Regions from separate parts of the Homo sapiens genome. Here region 1 is linked to region 2. Evidence: promoter capture Hi-C in human tissues and cell types (Jung and others, 2019). All regions are on one chromosome and are shown on one strand. Each heading gives the region's core, a stretch centred on a gene start or on the middle of the fragment in contact. The rest is flanking DNA. Distances are from core to core; before and after follow the strand shown. Region 1 overlaps DNAH10 (dynein axonemal heavy chain 10). Region 2 holds the start of DNAH10OS (dynein axonemal heavy chain 10 opposite strand).

Region 1 (2,700 bases), core at 128-2,627, 110 kb before region 2:
ATCCCAGCTACTCAGGAGGCTGAGGCAGGAGAATCACTTGAACCTGGGAGGTGGAGGTTGCAGTGAGTCCAGATTGCGCCATTGCACTCCAGCCTGGGCGACAAGAGCGAAACTCCATCTCAAAAAAAAAAAAAGTTCTGGAAATAGATAGTGGCGCTGGCTGTGTGACATTGTGAAAGTACTTGATGCCACGGAATTGTACATTTTATTTTTATTTTTGAGACAAAGTCTCGCTCTAACACCCAAGCTGGGGTGCAGTGGTGTGATAATAACTCACTGCAGCCTCGAAGTCCTGGGTCGAAGTGATCCTTCTGCCTCAGCCTGCAAAGCAGTTGGGACTACAGAGGTGCACCACCATGCCCAGCTATTCTTTTTTTAGTTTTAGTAGAGGCAATGTCTCACTGTGTTACCCAGGCTGGTCTGGAACTCCTGATCTCAAGCGATCCTCCTGCCTTGACCTCCCAAAGTGCTGGGATTACAGGCATGAGCCATTGCACCCAGCCTGGAATTACATATTTTAAAATGATTAAAATGACAATTTTTTTTTTATGTATTTTACTGTCATCATAGAAAAGAACTCTCTTTGGAGGTCAAGGGCTTGGTTAAGGCATGGGGTAAACTGTTTAGTTGCAAGCGGAGATTAAAAGTTGCCGTGTCAGCCTGGTGTGGTGGCTCATGCTTGTAATCCCAGCACTTTGGGAGGCTGAGATGGGCAGATTACTTGAGGCCAGGAGTTCGAGACTAGCCTGGGCAACAAGGCGAAACCCCGTTTCTACTAAAAAATACAAAAAAAAGTTCCGGGCACAGTGGCTCACACCTGTAATCCCAGCACTTTGGGAGGCAAGGCGGGTGGATCACTTGAGGCCAGGAGTTCGAGACTAGCCTGGCCAACATGGCAAAACTCCATTTCTACTAAGAAATACAAAACTTAGCCAGATATGGTGGCACATGCCTGTGATCCCAGCTGCTTGGGAGGCTAAGGCACAAGAATCGCTTGAACCCAGGAGGTGGAGGTTGCGGTGAGCTGAGATTGCGCCACTGCACTCCAGCCTGGGTGACAGAGTGAGACTCTGTCTCAAAAAATAAAAATAAAAAAGTTGCAAATGTCATGTCATTTGGGTGCCTCTCATTGGTATGTTTCCCATGCAAATTCATGCTATTCATTCATTTATCTATTGACTTAGTTCTTTATAGCTCAGTGCTGTGCTGGTTGGAGTGTGGGGTCCAGAAAAGGAGTCATGTTTGCCCGTTCCTGCCCTTCTTGAGTCCCCAAGGGAGACTGACTATGTTAGTCTGGGTTCTTGAGAAACAGAATCAATAGGAGATATGTGTATCTATATCTATATCTGTCTATATCTAATCTGTATCTATAACCTGTATCTATACCTGTATCTATATCTAATCTACATCTGTATTACATTATCTAATCTATATCTATCTGTATCTAATCTACATATCTATTTCTAATCTATATCTAATGTATATCTATATATCTGTGTCTAATCTATACCTATATCTATGAGATTTGTGATGAGGAATTGGCTCCTGTGATTATGGAGGCTGAGAAATCCCATGGTCTGCAGTTGGCAAGCTAGAGACCCTGGAGAGCTGATGGTATAGATTCTAGTCTGAGTCCAAGTCCGAATGCGGGAGAACACTGACGTCCCAGCTTGAAGACAGTCAGGCACAGAGGTTGCATTCCACCTTCCTCAGCCTTTTGTTCGATTCAGGCCTGCAGTGGATTGAGTGAGGCCATCCATGTTGGGGAGGGCCACCTGCTTTACTCAGTCCCCCAATGCAAACGCTCATCTCACTCAGTATCTCTCACAAAACACCAGCGTCCACTTGACACACAGGATTCACCTTTGCACCGATATGTGAACAAATAACCACGCCCCCAAGATATGTGCTGGAAATGAGGTGGACAGAGTCCTGAGCTTGCAGAGGAGGAAGGAGAGTGGCCCACTGGCCCAGGGAATGCTGCTGAGGAGGTGGCCTGGGAGTGAGGCTCAGAACCAGAGCAGGCTTTTGCCTGGTGCAGAACAAGGCTTTCCAGGCAGAGCGCTGGGCAGGAGCAGAGACAGGAGATTTGAAGTTGTGTCTTGTGTCCATAACCTTTCATCCAGACTGGTGGCTTTACCAACCATGGATGCACCAGGAAATGGGGTTGGGATGTGCGAAGCGGCCGGTGGAGATGAAGCCGTGAGAAGGGACTCCGGAGGCAGCCGGGGGATTGCAGGCAGGGGGTCCTTTAGGAGGTCACTGCCCCAGTGCTGGCAGAAGGGATGGGAGCTTGCATTTTAGGACAATTATAGAGGGAATAGAGAGGAGAGAAGATTCCAGAGATGGGGTGGAAAGTGATGAGACCTGGTGCCTGCACCAGGCAAAAAATTCATAAAGTTAAAAACATACCGTCAGCTTTTAAAAGGAAAGGTATCATGAGAACTGAGAACAACCACACACATGTCAAAATAAGTGGTTTTAAAATGTTTAATTTTTCTGGGTTCATAGTAGGTGTCTATATGGGATACATAGATGTTTTGACACGGGCATGCAATGTGTAATAATCACATCACGGGGAATGGGATGTCCATCCCCTCAAGCTTTTATCCTTTGTGTTACAAACAATCCAATTATGCTCCTTTAGTTATTTAAAAATATACAATTTTTATTGACTATAGTCACCCTGCCATGCTATCA
Region 2 (2,700 bases), core at 24-2,523:
TCCACTTTCTCCGTTGAGACCTGGGGTCTATGGCAGGGGAGACCTGAACCATGTTCACTCTGCTAGCTCATGGCAAGTGGGCTCCTAGGTCAGAATTAGCTCTTGCAAAAACCATCAGGTGGCTTTCTTGTAACCCCTGACGGGGCCAGGGGCATGGGAGCCACAGAGCAGCATGGACTAACTTGGTTGGAACTCTTTGATTATGCCAGAACTTCAGGTCCCTTAGACATTGGTTACTGACTGTGCAAATGAGAGCTGGAAACTGCTGTTTCCCCGGGTCCATGTTGTCTTAGAGTTCTTTTAACTGCAAGGAACAAAAGCTCTTTTGAGATGGCTTAAGGACTGGGGACTTACGGTAAAGATGCAGGGACTCTCCAGGTCTCAGTGGCAGGGGAGGTGGCAGGTGTCCGGGCCACCACTCTCTCTGGGGCCACAGGAGTGTGTTCCTCTCTTTGCACATCTGCTGGGTCCTCCTCCCCGGAGACCACTTTCTCTGTGAGGCTTCGACTTCCTGCTCCCCAGCCACTTCGGCTCACAGGGTAGCTGGGGTTGCCATGGTGCCCATTCTGACTCTGGGACCATGCATCTTTCTAGCCTGGGGGCCCAGGGTGGTCTAAGTCCGTGGGCCTTGATGCCCCAGGAATGAGGATTCCTGGGGGAGAGGCCACCGCCCCACACCCATTTCTCTGGGCCATGGGGCAGGGCCACAGGGTCTCCTGTCTGGGCTGCTCCTCCACAGAGGGAAGGTGGGCAGGACAGAAATGCTGGAGAAGGGCCTGGGCTGTCCCCAATGCGCTGGGGAGGAGGCCAGCCAGTGGCCTGTGTGTCGCTGTGTGTGCGCCTGATAGAGCCACTCCGTGGCAGGCTGTGCATGCTCCAGTTGTATCCAGTCTCTGCCTTGTGTCCCTAGGATGCTTTGTCTCAGGACTGTACCTGGAAGGTGCTGACTGGGATATAGAAAAAGGATGTCTTATCAAGAGCAAACCCAAGGTGCTGGTTGTGGACCTGCCGATCCTGAAGATCATCCCCATTGAAGCCCATCGCCTCAAGCTGCAGGTGAAGGTCCCAGCCCCTCCTCTCTGACACCAGGGCCCTTCCTCTTCTGACTGTAGTTATGGCTGAGGTGGTTTCCAACAGTCCTACTTTTTAAAACAGGGGTGCCTAAGCTTTATGGGCTGGGGAGAGTCTTGGAGCCGTGATAAAAGCTACGGATAGCTGCTTCCTGGAAAAGGCGCGGCTGTATGTGTGTGTGGATGCCGGTCCTTCCAGAGGTGTCAGGCTCAAGCTGTGATCCTGTGGTCTAGACTAACCAAGGGGAGACTCCCTCCCTTCTTGCAAAATGCTGCAGACATTGCCTGAGTCATAAAGTGGTTCCCGCTGGTGTGGACAGCAGATGTCTTCTGCTCTGCCTGGGCCAGGACCCACTTTTAACCAGGGTGTCAGTGTGAAGCCAGGTCCCCGTGAAGCTGGCGGAGGGTGGCCCTGAGCAGCCCCAGCCTTGTGCGTGTTCTCAGGTGCAGTCTTGCACAGGGGCCCCTGCCTGTCAAGACTTACACTGCACCTCTGCCTTTATCCCTCTGCACCCTCTCTCCGTGGGGGCATCTCACCTGCCTTTCCCTTGCAGAATACTTTCCGGACCCCCGTCTACACCACCTCCATGAGAAGGAACGCCATGGGAGTCGGCTTGGTTTTTGAAGCTGATCTCTTTACCACGAGGCACATTTCTCACTGGGTGCTGCAAGGAGTATGCCTCACCCTGAATTCTGATTAACCTTTGGGTGAAGAAAACTGCTTAATGAATTCGGAGCCTGGGGTTGTCAGAGTGATCGGGTCTGCTGTCATTTCTTGGGGCCTCTCAAGAGGCAGGAGGGGGACTGACACTGATTTTTCATTTGAAATCAGCCACTTAAATCTCTTTCCATACAAATTAACCTGAATGGTTTTGTTTTTAATACTACTTTTTAAAAGGAATTTATATAATCAAAAAGTAAATATTGGAGAGTATTTTAAGATGTGTGGAGTTTTCTTTTCCTTCTCAGAGAAAACACTTGATTAGGCAAAAGTGCCTGGCATACATAGCATTGGCACAAGTGAGAATCCTAATGTAATTTCCAAAGGTGTGTTTTCGATGATCCAGGTCTGTTTCAGCAGATGCTCCTTTTTGGCAAGAAGGGCTGATGATGTCGGGCACAGAGCAGAAGTGACCAGTCACCTGGAGCCACTTCTCCCCCTTCCAGAACTCTCTGGCCCTAGCTTCTTTGGCTCTGACCTGCTACGGCGACTGTGAAGTTGTTGAGCTTAGTGTTTAGTTCCTGCATGAGCTTCTACCCCCAGCCTGCCTGGGTCTGTGTGGGGTCAGGTAAGGACACAGAACCTCCAGGACCAGTGGTCACTGGGCACCCCTTCCCTCTGTGCACCATGAGGCTGGCCTGGAGCCCTGGCTGGCCACCTGGAGGTGAGGGGTGGCTTCACTCCATGAGGGAGGAGAGGGGCTAGCACGGGCAGCACAGTGGGCAGGGGCCATCAGAGGCAAAAGCAGCTTCCCACAGAAGCTCAGGAGCGCAGCACATTCTAAGGACTAGCTCTGGGCCGGGAGGAGGCCGGAGTCGCTTCTGGGACCTGTGATTGCTCTCCCTCCTGCAGTCTCCTAGCCCTCCTTCAGGTGTTTGTTTAATAAAAGACACAAAACAGAAGGAAGGC

The links. Contacts are between HindIII fragments. The study calls those that stand out against the background at their distance.
Region 1: a contact is called between a fragment that was not itself captured here and the fragment with the promoter of DNAH10OS in region 2, in 2 of the 25 tissues and cell types used here (lymphoblastoid cells and mesenchymal stem cells).

Annotation. Positions count from the first base shown.
Region 1 is chr12:123,821,130-123,823,829 of GRCh38, forward strand. All of the region lies in intron 24 of DNAH10 (dynein axonemal heavy chain 10), which reads left to right. Among named protein-coding and RNA genes, the nearest start is that of DNAH10, 60 kb to the left of the region's middle. The HindIII fragment of the contact is 5,209 bases long and covers 1-2,700 here.
Region 2 is chr12:123,933,711-123,936,410 of GRCh38, forward strand. It overlaps DNAH10OS (dynein axonemal heavy chain 10 opposite strand), which reads right to left and starts at 1,274. Exons shown (of 2, transcript NR_187476.1): 1 at 355-1,274. DNAH10 (dynein axonemal heavy chain 10) reads left to right here. Exons shown (of 79, transcript NM_001372106.1): 78 at 911-1,056; 79 at 1,625-2,004. The coding sequence ends at 1,771. CCDC92 (coiled-coil domain containing 92) reads right to left here. Exons shown (of 5, transcript NM_025140.3): 5 at 1,916-2,700. The HindIII fragment of the contact is 2,982 bases long and covers 230-2,700 here.